Regions from separate parts of the Homo sapiens genome. Here region 1 is linked to region 2. The links are contacts of gene promoters, found by promoter capture Hi-C in human tissues and cell types (Jung and others, 2019). All regions are on one chromosome and are shown on one strand. The core of a region is centred on a gene start or on the middle of the fragment in contact, and the rest is flanking DNA. Distances in the headings are between cores, read along the strand shown.

Region 1 (6,769 bases), core at 3,092-5,591, 48 kb before region 2:
CCCAATCCTGCATTTAAAAGGATGTCTATAAATTGTGGAACTATTTTGTCCAGTAAGCCCTTCTTCCTAAAATTATATTTTGTTGAAACTGCAGCCAATGTCCAGACATAAGAAGATTTTTTTCCAAATCAATGTAACATGAAAATTCAAGGGAATCCTTTCAAAATCTATAATCTGCAAGGAATCTAACTTGTAAGGAAAGGTCTTTAACCATTATTTCTTTGACTCACAGACAGATCACAGATTATGGAATTAAGATTTGAGTCCTGCCTTCATGCCTGATTGGTTCCGTAATCTTGGGCAAGTCACTTACATGCTTGGACTTTAATTTTTCGTATTTAAAACTGTCAGGATTATTCGTATTTCCTTCATCTTCTTTCACCAGAAAAATGTCCTAATATTACAGGTAAAAACACTGACTACCCAAGAAAATAACCAAATTGAAGAGAAGAAAATTGATTCATTCTTCCTGTTCCTCACCTGAGTAGCAGCTAATGTATCTCCACAATCTCCTCGGACAGCCAAAGCATTCTTTTCATTGATCCAAGCTTCCTCTTCCTCAGCATTCTGCATGAATTGCAAGTATTCTAGGGATTCTTCCAACTTAAGTCCTCTATAACAAGGTGGCAAGCCCCAGTGAGGATAAGAACAAACTGGTAAGCAGTGGGAGTACAGTGGGGTGGCACAATCTCATTCAGGCAGACCAGCTTATTCTCACAAGGCAGCCACAGTTGAAGTGGGCCTCAACACAGTATAATAGGTGCCTACTGCTCAGTGGTGAAGATCTGCTGTGAAATGGAGGAGACGCCTGCTCTAGAAGTTCATTTTGTGGCACCATCTACTGTCTTAAGAAACTTTGCTGGAGGGAGGAAACCCACCCTAACCAAAAAAAGGGAAATGATGACTTCAGTGTTGGAGAATATCAGCAGTGACACAATGTCTCTTTCTACTCTGAGCACTGCCTTCTTTCGTATATGATGAAGACACCACGAAGTGCCAGAATCTTCCTTTTAGCCCCCCCCAGGAAAAATGGAACTACAGACAGAAATCGTTATATTTGGCTATATGTGTGATATGGTTTGGCTCCGTTTCCCCACCCAAATCTCATCTTGAACTGTAATCCCTATGTATCAGGGGAGGGGCCTGGTGGGAGGTGATTGGATCATGGGAGCAGATTTTCTCCTTACTGTTTTCATGATAGTGAGTGAGTTCTTGCAAGATCTGATGGTTTAAAAGTGTTTAGCACTCTCCCCGCCCCCGCCCGCTCCCTGCCTTGCTAAGATGTTCTTCTTTCTTTGCATTCTGCCATGATTGTAAGTTTCCTGAGGCCTCCCAGTCATGCTTCCTGTACAGCCTATGAAACTATGAGTGAATTAAACTTCTTTTCTTCATAAATACCCAGTCTCGGGTAGTTCTTTATATCAATGTGAGAACGGACTGATACATTGTGTATGTGGTTCAAATTGGCTATATGGCTATAGGGAAAAATAATTCTTCGTCCTTACATTACTAAGGGCTGATTATAATATGAAAACTGGGAGATAAAGCAGAACAGATGTGTGGCTAATAACCTGATATGAAGGATAACACATGTAGGAAAACAATAGTAAAAGACAGTTGCATGTAAATGCAGAAGGAGAGGTAGATTTAGAACAGAGGCAGTGATCATCGTGTCTGGGGTATATGGAGGAAAGCTTTGTGGTAAACTTGTCATTTGAGAAGGGACTTAAGGAGATAGATAGGTAGTTGGGGATAGCAGACAATGCTGAGCAGGCACTTAAGTATCCTCCCAACACCTGCCCAATATCCAAAATCCAGGAAGGGAACTGGGCCTTCTGTATCCCACTCACCGGGCCTTGGCCAACTCTTTGAGCTTCTCCCAGTGTTCAACAAACTGAGCCAGCCGCAACTGGATCTCCTCTTGCCCCACAGCAGCCTTGTCTTTCAGCTTCTCTGCCATATCCAGCACATTCTGAAGAACAACCCCGATACATGTTCCATTACCCCACAATCTCTCCCCATTTAGCCATAGTCCCTGAGCAAAGTATCTAGCCCATCCTACCCTCCAGATTATTTATAAACTCCACGGGACTTTGTGAGGGTCCTGAAAGTCCAGGGAGAATGATGAAAGCTGCAAGAAGATTTGCTATGCTAAACTTTCCCAAGTATTTGCAAATATATCAGTACTTGCACTAGTCTACTCTCCCTAATCTGCTTTTTCGTCTATTCATGGTCACAGAGTGACCCTGCTGCCAAGTCAGACCCAGAGTTGCCTTCTTCCCAGATGGCTCAAGTACAGTTTTCCCAGATGTCCCAACCTGCATCCCAATTGTCAATCATTCCCCAGGAGTGTTAAGAGTGCTCCTTCCAGGGAAGAGCATGGGTTCTTGTTCAGAACTCTTCTACTTATAGGAGACTAAATGTGGAAGAGAAAAGAATATTTGTAAACTCTTTGACTAACTCTCTCTGACCTTGACATCCTATTTTCACGTTTTGTAGCACCCTCTTATTTATCTGTAACACAAGGGGTTGCTATAGGATGATTTCTATATTTTCAGATCTGGTATTCTATTCCTACCTGGATGGCAGGCTCATGGGCCACCAGCTCCCCCTCTAGGCGTTTGTGCTTCTTCAGCAAGTTCTGAACCCCCTGAAGATCTCTCCCATAGTCCTGGGAGCTCACTCGTATCAACTTCTCCCTAAAATCAAGGAAGAAAACAGAAAGTTTGGAGTCTAGACATCTAATGTCATCCTACAGCAATAGCTTTCTATGACTATGTGTGTGGCTGGTGGTGAGGGAGGTGGTTGTAAATTCTGTAATACCCTGGTGCCAATGACCAAAAATATAATTAGTGGAAGAGGCTTGCAGCAAAACTTCTGACTGAGCCAATACAAATTAAAGTAACATACTGATCTCCACCATAGTCACAACTGTAACAGCCTTTCCATTAGTCCCTTTGCTTCTCCACTTGTATATCTTCTCTTTTTTGCTCAAGAATACACACTAATGTTTCCTATTTCAAAAAAATGTGAAAATTATATATGACCTCCACAGGTTTTGTTATTTTCATTTATTAATGTCAATAATAAATTCAGCTAGAATGGGTATAAAGAGCTGATTTCATAGGAGTCATGGCAGTTGGGATGCTTCCAAGTGCAAAAGGTTTGAGCATCACCACGAAGTACAGTCGAAGACTACATGGACAAGATTATTCTATCTTATGGTCTTATCCAAAAAGGTTTTTAAAACATGTTATTTGTTGCCCTGTGCATGGTGCTTCCCTCTAATTTATTGATTACTCATAATAATCAAGCAGCTTTGTAGAAGAGAAGCGTGATGAGGCAGGTTAAATGGGAAGTAGGCAAAATAGTGTAATGTGCTAAGATTTTCCAAATCATATTTTACAACAAAAATGGAATGAGTAATGAAACCTTGGTAGATACTTTGTAATATTCTCTATTGAGTGTCCAATTCAGTGTCATATAAGATATACTGGATATAGAATGACAAGGTTCTGACCAGCTGTGTAACCAAAAATGGAATGAGTAATGAAACCTTGGTAGATACTTTGTAATATTCTCTATTGAGTGTCCAATTCAGTGTCATATAAGATATACTGGATATAGAATGACAAGGTTCTGATCAGCTGTGTAAATGTCCAGGTGTCTCTGTGAGTATTGCATATTATTCAATGAACTACAGAGCAAATGCAGATGGCTTCTTAGTTTTGTTCCTGTCATGTATGTTAACTGCTCTTCACTTCCTCCACACCTGTCTTTCTCTGGCTTGCATCCAGTAAGGGAATTTGGGAAAAATAAAACCAATGTTAACCTTAAGCTGAGGCAAACATGAAGTAGTGCTATCTTCAAGAAACAAGTACAAATTTCATTTCAGCATAAATTGGAACAAGTTTGGTGGATTATCTACTCGCTTGTATTATCCACACATTTTTGAGCTGGTGGCACATACTCTATCCAGGATTCCTCATCATCTAGATCCTGGAAGAACTGGAACAAGGCATAGGCCTCTTTCAATTTTTCGTGGTGTGCAGCTGCCAATTCTTGGACATTCAGGAAACGCTTGTTGACATTATCTTTTTTCTTCACAATCTGATCAACGTTGAAAGTCCCGCTGGAGAGCAAATCTTCAGCCAATGTATTCAGGTCCTTGAGTGCATCCTAGAAAGTCTCGGGATACTCAGTGAATAGTATAGTATAGGCATTACTCAGATCCCACACTTTAACAACAGCTGGTCTGGCTCAAAGACTGGGCCAAATGGATTGCTTTTAAAGACATGGAGTTTGATTATGTGTTATACATGTTAGCATATGTTCAGGTTGGAGAAGGGCCATATGTGGGAGCGATAGAGGTAGCATGACTACATTACTCAAACTGTACATTTAGCCTGTGTCCTGTTTCTCCTTCTGATATTTTCAGTATTTGCCTTCTCTCCCCAACTAAAAAAGAAAACCAGCAAGGTGCGGTGGCTCATGCCTGTAATCCCAGCACTTTGAGAGGCCAAGGCGGTTGGATCAAGAAGTCAGGAGTTCAAGACCACTGTGGCCAACATGGTGAAACCCTGTCTGTACTAAAAACACAAAAATTAGCCGGGCATGCTGGCGTGTGCCTGTAATCTCAGCTACTTGGGAGGCTGAGGCAGGAGAATTGCTTGAGCTGGTACCAAAAAAAAAAAAAAAAAAAAAGGAAAATCTTGGCGGGCAATCATTCGTTCCCATACAAGACTGTCTTATACTGACTTTGATAGCCACAGATTGATTGATTTGACAGTACCAACTTTGGCAGCCACAGATTGATTGATTCAATATTCAACAAGAACTACTCTATGGGCAACATTCTTAGCTGCCCATTGAACACATCTATCTCTTCTGTGTCTACTCCTATTCTAACCCAGCCCCTTAGTGATGTCACAGGAAACATCACCAAGTCCCAAGGCCTTTGACTTCCTGCCTTTTCTGTGTGTATCTGTATTATCAAGTAAAATGATAATTATAAAATTCTTTAGTATAAAATTAACAACTGTCAGCATTTTTATCACTGCTCTCAGCACAAATTTTTGGTTGCTATTAGGATGCAACCAGAATCCTTGACAGGATTTCCAGAGTGTTTGTGTAGTTCATCTTCATTTCACATGCCCCCATCTGATTTTTTGTTTGTAATTCTATAAAGTAAACTTCCACTTTCTTTCAAATACCAGATCAAATATATAGCTTAAAGACAATTGGCTTATATGTATGCATCAGTAAAAGATAAAAAAGATAGTTTCCCAGGTCCACTTTCTGGAATCTTAAAGTCTATAGTTTAGGGATAATTGATTATCAGTGACAGTTTTAATGTCTTCACAGCCCGTTAATTTTACCTAATTAAAATGACTGCTGGTTGAGAACACTAAGAACAATTTTGCAAGGCTATGTTTTCAAATGGTCTCCTAACATGGGAGGGAGAAGAGCCAGAAATATTTCTATTCTGCCCAGAGGAGAGGGATGCCAACACTACTTACCTCTCGAGCCAACATCTCTCTCTCCAATAGCTGATGCTTCTTGAGTAGGTTTCCTGCTGAAGCCAAGTCCCTGGCCTGATCTTTCATGGCCAGCAATGTCTCTGCCTGGAAATAGAGAAATAAGCAATAAAGCTGCCAGGTGAAACTGCCTTTAAGGAGAATAAGATCAGCAGCTATGTCCCCAAACTTTTCCCAGGAAAATTCAAGGAAATTGCCCATGGGTAAATTCATTTGTCTGACAAGTATGTATTAAACTCTTGTGTCTCTACTGTTTCCGGGTGCAATTACCTCTGAGAGCCAGAACTCAAAGTCCCGGATGCTTGTGTTGAACCTCTGTTGACGACTGGCCTCATTGAGCTTCTTCCCTTTGTCATTTGTTCTCTCAAGCAGATGATCCCAATGTTCCTTCAGCTGTTCCAGTTGCTCCTAACCCAAGGAGAGTGAGGAGTCATTACAATCTTTAGGATCCCGGGCCCTGTGACTACTTGAGAGAATAATGTAGGAAGGCTGTGAAGGCAGGAACTAGCCAAAATTTGCTGATACTTGAATATCATACATTTCAAACCAGTTATACTTAATCTGGGAAAACAATAGGAGTTGTTGGACAAAAGAGAAAGTTTAAAAAAGGGTCCTGTGTTGAGTAAAGAGACTGACATACAAATGCCAAAAAACTATTGGCAGAAGGGATAGAAAATGTAAAACAAGCATGATAAGAGTTTGGAATTAAGCCGAAGCTTTCTTAGTGTTCCAGGTACTGAGTATGATGGGAGTGATAAGGTCTGGGCATCACTCCTTTTCTCCTTCTTTGTGCAACAATCAGAGGGAAGACTGTTTTTCTGTGATATGGTCACAGAACATATTTTATATTTCTACTCATGGAACATTAAAGTCTCAGGATACAAAATCAATGTGTAAAAATCACAAGCATTCTTATACACCAATAACAGACAAACAGAGAGCCAAATCATGAGTGAACTCCCATTCACAATTGCTTCAAAGAGAATAAAATACCTAGGAATCCACCTTACAAGGGATGTGAAGGACCTCTTCAAGGAGAACTACAAACCACTGCTCAATGAAATAAAAGAGGATACAAACAAATGGAAGAATATTCCATGCTCATGGGTAGGAAGAATCAATGGCCATACTGCCCAAGGTAATTTATAGATTCAAGGCCATTCCCATCAAGCTACCAATGACTTTCTTCACAGAATTGGAAAAAACTACTTTAAAGTTCATATGGAACCAAA
Region 2 (6,349 bases), core at 45-2,544:
GGTGTTTACTCATGTTGGACCTATATTCAGATATCCTGAAGTTTCTAGGGACTATTGTCAGAAGAGCTGTAGTATATTTACGTAATTTTTAACCAGACATAGCTTCTGTTTAGGTTAAAAATTCTTGATTATCCAGAAGACTCTCCTCACTTTTTACATAAATTTGTGCTAGCATTTAAGTTCTATAGATATAATTATATTGGACTGATCATGGAGCAAGTTTAAATCAGCAAAATCACATAATTTCAGATAGATAAAAAGAAATATAATGTTATTGCTTTCAAGGGCTAAAAAGGTGTTGAGAAGTGCTTATTATTTTTAACTTAATTTAATAAATAATTAAGAATGGCTTGCAATTAATTTAGTTAATGATATATGCAACAGTTTGAAAATTTTGTTTCCTTCATACTTAAAAATAAATCTCATATATTTACTCTTTACTTGCTTTACTCACAAACACTATAAATCAAAAGTTCAGCTATCTTCTGCCCAATTGTCACAAATTTCAAATTATTAGCATGTCTGCAATTTATTTTTGAAATATAAAAACTTTTACTCTAAAACAATATATAAGTATCCTTTTCCCAGAGTGGGAGCCAACCTGTTTGTGACAATATCCAGCAAAATCACCATAGGGTTCACCTTCATTCTTCTGGATATGGATACCATTTTCCCTAGCTTACCTCAGCCAAAATGTTTAATATAGAGTTTAAATTTTAATCTCCCATTATTCCTCCTAAGTATAATTGCTACTCTGTGAATTGCCATTACTGGCATGGCTATAGAATTAGATCATTACATGGAGACTCACGTTGTTACTAGGTGTTATTTAGCTTCAATCTCCCTACTTATTCTCTCTGGGAACCGACTTAAGTCATTACTGGGTCTTGGTGCTGCACAGACATAAGCTCAAGGTTATTGTTCACAAAAAATAGTTAAAAGTAAAATTATCTATTTGTTAAAAGCCAAATAATTATTAATGTTCCTGGGAAAGATAGTATAGAAAGTTTAAAGGAAACATCTTTCCTAATAATATTAATGACAAATTGCATGGAAGAGAAATATGTACTTACGGTTTCCTTTGGAAATTGCTCCATTTTTCCTAAAGGTTTAGAACCTGGCAAGATAAAATGTGTCAGAGAGAGAGAGAGAGAGAAATAATTCAAATGGAACTGTCCAGTCGAATTCAAATAGAAATATAGAAACGTTAAGTATGTGGGGGAAAAAAAAAAACCTCTTGCTTGGTCCTAGAATCCCATCAGCCATACACAATCGACATTATCTTTAGAAGACATACTCAGCTGAGGCAACTGCTAAGTTTTACAGATACTGGGTGACTCAGCAGTTTTGGGAGGCTCTGGCTTTCAAAGTTACTCAATAAGACTTAAAAAATGAAAGTAAGGTTTTTGGATGAAAAATTAGAAAAAAAACCCCATATATTTATAGGAAATACAGCTCAACAACTTCATCCAACTCAACTGCAGATTTTTCACAGTCTTTAAGTCAACGAATTATCCTGGCTTTTTCTAGAGAGTCTTTCACAAAATAAGATTTTATTCCTAACCTCAACAATTTGGTCTTTAAAAATCTGATTTAGTTGTACTCTTAATCATTTAAATGGAAGGAACAAAAAAAGTTATATGATGTGTTCATTAATATTTTGTAAAACAAAAATTAGGATACCTTATTTGACAAACCAATGATGTCACAAAAAAGTTGAAAATATGGCTGACTTCTGATATATATGGTATAAATCATCCTACTGTATGTATTAATTTTAATGGAGAACAAAAAGAGGTAGACTTTTTCCATAGGCATAGTTATTTTAGACTAACTTACAAAAATGAAACAAACAAGCAAAAAGAAAATAGTGGGATGCTCTTAGACCTTTCTACAAGCCAGTGGGGCTATCCATGCCAAACTTCATTCCAGTGTAAATGCAGCTTGAATAATCTAACTTCCATGATCTACAAGAGAAGATTTTGATTCTACATTTGTGGTTTCCCCTGTTCTTGGATCTCACATAGAAAAACTGAGAGTCCTTTACATTCTCTTCTTGAAAGTCTGGATTACTTTACTTTTCCATATAGTTTCATTATATTCAAGTCAAATTTAGTAGTAAAGGCAGGAACATAATTTTAGAGACTGCACTATAACACATGCACTGAGGAATATTTGTCTGAAGTTGGGATAAGGAGAGGAAATTATTTTATCTTTAAGAGAAAAGAATCAACATCTATGAAATATTTATATATTAACATGATCAATTTACATTAATTTCTAATCTTTAAAAATTCTGTGAGGCAGGTATTATCATACCCGTCTTTATGTGAGAAAACAGTCCCTAAAAAACAAAGTTTCATTCTATGGTGATTTGGTTTGAAAGTATTTAAATAGTCAAATCCATATCAATATGATTATCATGGCACTCTGCTCCTTATTTTTTTAGTCAATCTTCTCTTAGTCCATCAACATTATTTGTTCTGTTTCCCTGTTCCAGAATCATCTTAGCAAGAATGCCAAACATGTGATAACCTTGTGACCAAAGAAATAGTATGGCCCATTGTGAATAGTGCCACAATATACATATGTGTGCATGTGTTTTTATAGTAGAATGATTTATAATCCTTTGGGTATATAGCCAGTAATGGGATTGCTGGGTCAAATGGTATTTATGGTTCTAGATCCTTGAGGAATTGCCACACTGTCTTCCACAATGGTTGAACTAACTTACACTCCCACCAACTGTGTAAAAGCATTCCTATTTCTCCACATTGTCTCCAGCATCTGCTGTTTCCTGACTTTTTAATGATCGCCATTCTAACTGGCATGAGATGGTATCTCATTGTGGTTTTGATTTGCATTTCTCTAATGACCAGTTATGATGAGCTTTTTTTCATATGTTTGCTGACTGCATAAATATCTTCTTTTGAGAAGTGTCTATTCATATCCTTTGCTCACTTTTTGATGGGGTCATTTGTTTTTTTCCTGTAAATTTGTTTAAGTTCCTTGTAGATTCTGGATATTAGCCCTTTGGAACCAACCTGAATGCCTATCAGTGAAAGACTGGATAAAGAAAATGTGGTACCTATACACTATGGAATACTATGCAGCCATAAAAAAGGATGAGTTCATGTCCTTTGCAGGGATATGGATGAAGCTGAAAACCATCATTCTCCACAAACTATCACAAGGACAGAAAACCAAACACCACATGTTTTCACTCATAAGTGGGAGTTGAACAATGAGAACACATGGACACAGGGAGGGAAACATCACACCCTGAAGCCTGTTGCGGGGGTGGTGGGATAGGGGAGGGATAGCATTAGGAGAAATACCTAATGTAGATGACGGGTTGATGGGTGCAGCAAACCACCATGGCATGTGTATACCTATGTAACAAACCTGCATGTTCTTCATATGTGTCCTAGAACTAAAGTAAAATCATCACAATAAAAAGAAAGTAAAAATGCTTACTAATTCTATAATGTTTATTTTAAAAAAAAAGAAATAGCATGGCCCAATCAGCAGAACTGATCATAAGGAAATAAAAGTGTCTTTTCAACATATGTGTTGGAAAAATTGCATATTCACATAAAAAAATGAAATTGGACCCTTATGTTATGTACAAAAATCAACTCAAATGGGATTAAAGACTTAAATTACAACCTGAAACTGTAAAACTCCTGGAAAAAAAAAAACACAAGGAAAAAGCTTTATGACTTTTATCATATATAATAAGAATTATATATTTAGTATTTTATACAGTTTTAAAAGGATGGGGATAATTTGGAGGGCTGTTGTATCTGGCCATGGTTATCACCTCAGGGAGGGTTTGTACTTTACATAGTAGTTTAATCAGCACTGAACAGCTTGCCTCAGCTGCTGCTCAGGCATCAGAGCAAAGTGATCTGTTTGGTCTTGCCAAGTACTTCTTGGATACGGTACCAGAAACAAATGCAACAAAAGCAAAAATAAACAAATTGGACTACATCAAACTAAACATCTTCTGCACAGCAAAGAAAACAATAAGCAATAAAAAAAGTTCTCTTATGGAATGGAAGAAAATATTTGCATACATCTAACAAGAGGTTAAAATCCAAAATATACAAGGAGCTTCTTCAAATCTATAACAAAAACGAAAATTAGAAAATGAGCAAAGGACTTGAACAGATGATTTTCCAAAGAAGACATACAATTGGCTAACAGGTATAAGAAAACGTGCTCAACATCACTATCAGGAAAATGCAAATCAAAGCGATACTGAGATATTATCTCACATCTGTTAGGATGGCTACTCTCAAAGGAATAGAAAAATAAGTATTGCTGAAAATATGAAGAAGTTGGAACAATTGTACACTGTTGATAGAAATGTAAAATGGTGCAGCCACTGTGGAAAACAGTGTAGCATTGCCTAAAAACGAAAAATAGACCTATCATACAATCTAGCAGTCCCACTTCTGGGTATACAGCCAAAAGAATTAAAATCAGGATTGTAAGGAGGTATTTGCACTTTTGCACTTTTATGTTTATCTCAGCACTATTAACAAAAGTCAAGAAATGGAAACAATTGAAATGTCTATGACTGATGAAAGTGGCATGTACATACAATTGAAATAATTCAGTCATAATAACAAATGGAATCCTGTCACATATGACAACATGAGTGAACCTTGATGAAATTATGCTAAGTGAAATAAGCCAGTCACAGAAGGACAAATACTGCATGATACCACTTATAGGAAGTATATAAAATAGTCCAACTCATAGAAACAGAGTAAATAGTGCTTGTCAGAGGCTGAGGGAAGGAAAAATAGGTATTAAGTAGGTATGAAGTTTTATCCATGAAAGATGATTGAATTCTAGAGCTGTGCTGTACAACACATTGTATAAGTGTTAACAATACAGTATTGTACACTTCAAAATGTGTTAAGAGGATAGATCTCATGTTGTTTCTCACCACATTAGAAAAAAAAGTGTATAAGAATCATAGTGTTTGTTTGTTTGGTTGGTTGGTTTTTGTTTTGTTTTGTTTTGTTTTGTTTTGTTTTGTTTTTTGAGTTGGAGTCTCACTCTGTTGCCCAGGCTGGAGTGCAGTGGCACGATCCCACTTCACTGCAATCTCTGCCTCTCAGGTGCAAGTGATCCTCCTGACTCAGCCCCCCTAGTAGCTGGGATTACAGGCATGCACCACCATACCCGGCTAATTTTGTATTTTTAGTAGAGACAGGGTTTCATCATGTTGGCCAGGCTGGTTTCGAACTCCTGACCTCAGGTGATCCACCTGCCTCTGCCTCCCAAAGTGCTGGGATTACAGGATTGAGCCACCGCACCTGGCCAGAATCATAGTCTTTAGAGCAAAACTGCAATATGGAAGTACACAGGAGACATTCAGGGGAAGGTTTTGACACATAAAAACTGTTGAGTTCCTTGAGTTTTCCATCATTGTAGGCAGCAGAGATTCATGTAAAGTTTGCTCTGACAGTACTCTGGCTGCTGCTCTGGCATTTAGTGACTTAAAATTCAGTCCCATCCTGCACTCAAAGTCCCTTGAAACTAACATTGATTCTCCAGTCTCTAAGCATTGTTTATGATTATTAGTGCACATAACAAGGCATGTCGCTGAGATAGAAGAAAGGGCATGATGGAAAAGTCTTATACCTTGGTGGTTTAACGCTTGGACCTCTGACTTTCTTCTTCTACTTCTACAATCTCCCAAGAATATTCATTGGCTCTGATCATATAGAGACCCTTATTTAAAAGGACTCAGGAAAAAAAAAAATGGATGGAAAATACCATGGAAGTATAAAAGGAAGTACAATCTATAAAACTGCATGCCCCAAATGCCCATCAATGATAGACTGGATAAAGAAAACGTGGCACATATATACCATGGAATACTATACAGCCATAAAAAAGAATGAGTTCATGTCCTTTGCAGGGATGTGGATGAAGCTGGGAATCATCATCCTTAGCAAACCAAAAGAAACAGAAAACCAAACACTGCATGTTCTCACTCACAAGTAGGAGTTGAACAAAGAGAATACATGGACACAGGAAGGGAAACATCACACACTGGGGCCTGTCATGGGGTGAGGGGCAAGGGGAGGGAGTGCATTAGGACAAATACCTAATGCACGCGGGGCTTAAAACCTAGATGATGGGTTGATAGGTGCAGCAAACCACCGTGGCACATGTATTCCTATGTAACAAACCTGCATGTTCTGCTCATGTATCCCATAACTTAAAGTAAAATAAATAAAATAAAATGAATAAAAACTGCATGCTATGCTATATACATTGGTGCTGAGAGTTTACAGGAGACACTAGGGTTTGTTACAGACAGATT

What was found. The method cuts DNA at HindIII sites, captures the fragments that hold promoters and counts their contacts. A contact is called where the count stands out against the background at its distance.
Region 1: a contact is called between a fragment that was not itself captured here and the fragment with the promoter of SPTA1 in region 2, in 1 of the 25 tissues and cell types used here (small bowel).

The regions. Positions count from the first base shown.
Region 1 is chr1:158,634,063-158,640,831 of GRCh38, forward strand. It overlaps SPTA1 (spectrin alpha, erythrocytic 1), which reads right to left. Exons shown (of 52, transcript NM_003126.4): 34 at 5,808-5,945; 35 at 5,520-5,624; 36 at 3,971-4,179; 37 at 2,579-2,699; 38 at 1,851-1,972; 39 at 481-613. Among named protein-coding and RNA genes, the nearest start is that of OR10Z1, 32 kb to the left of the region's middle. The HindIII fragment of the contact is 6,441 bases long and covers 1,122-6,769 here.
Region 2 is chr1:158,685,421-158,691,769 of GRCh38, forward strand. It overlaps SPTA1 (spectrin alpha, erythrocytic 1), which reads right to left and starts at 1,295. Exons shown (of 52, transcript NM_003126.4): 1 at 1,074-1,295. The coding sequence starts at 1,097. RefSeq lists a silencer at 3,142-3,356 and a cis regulatory region at 3,716-4,013. The HindIII fragment of the contact is 10,406 bases long and covers 1-5,777 here.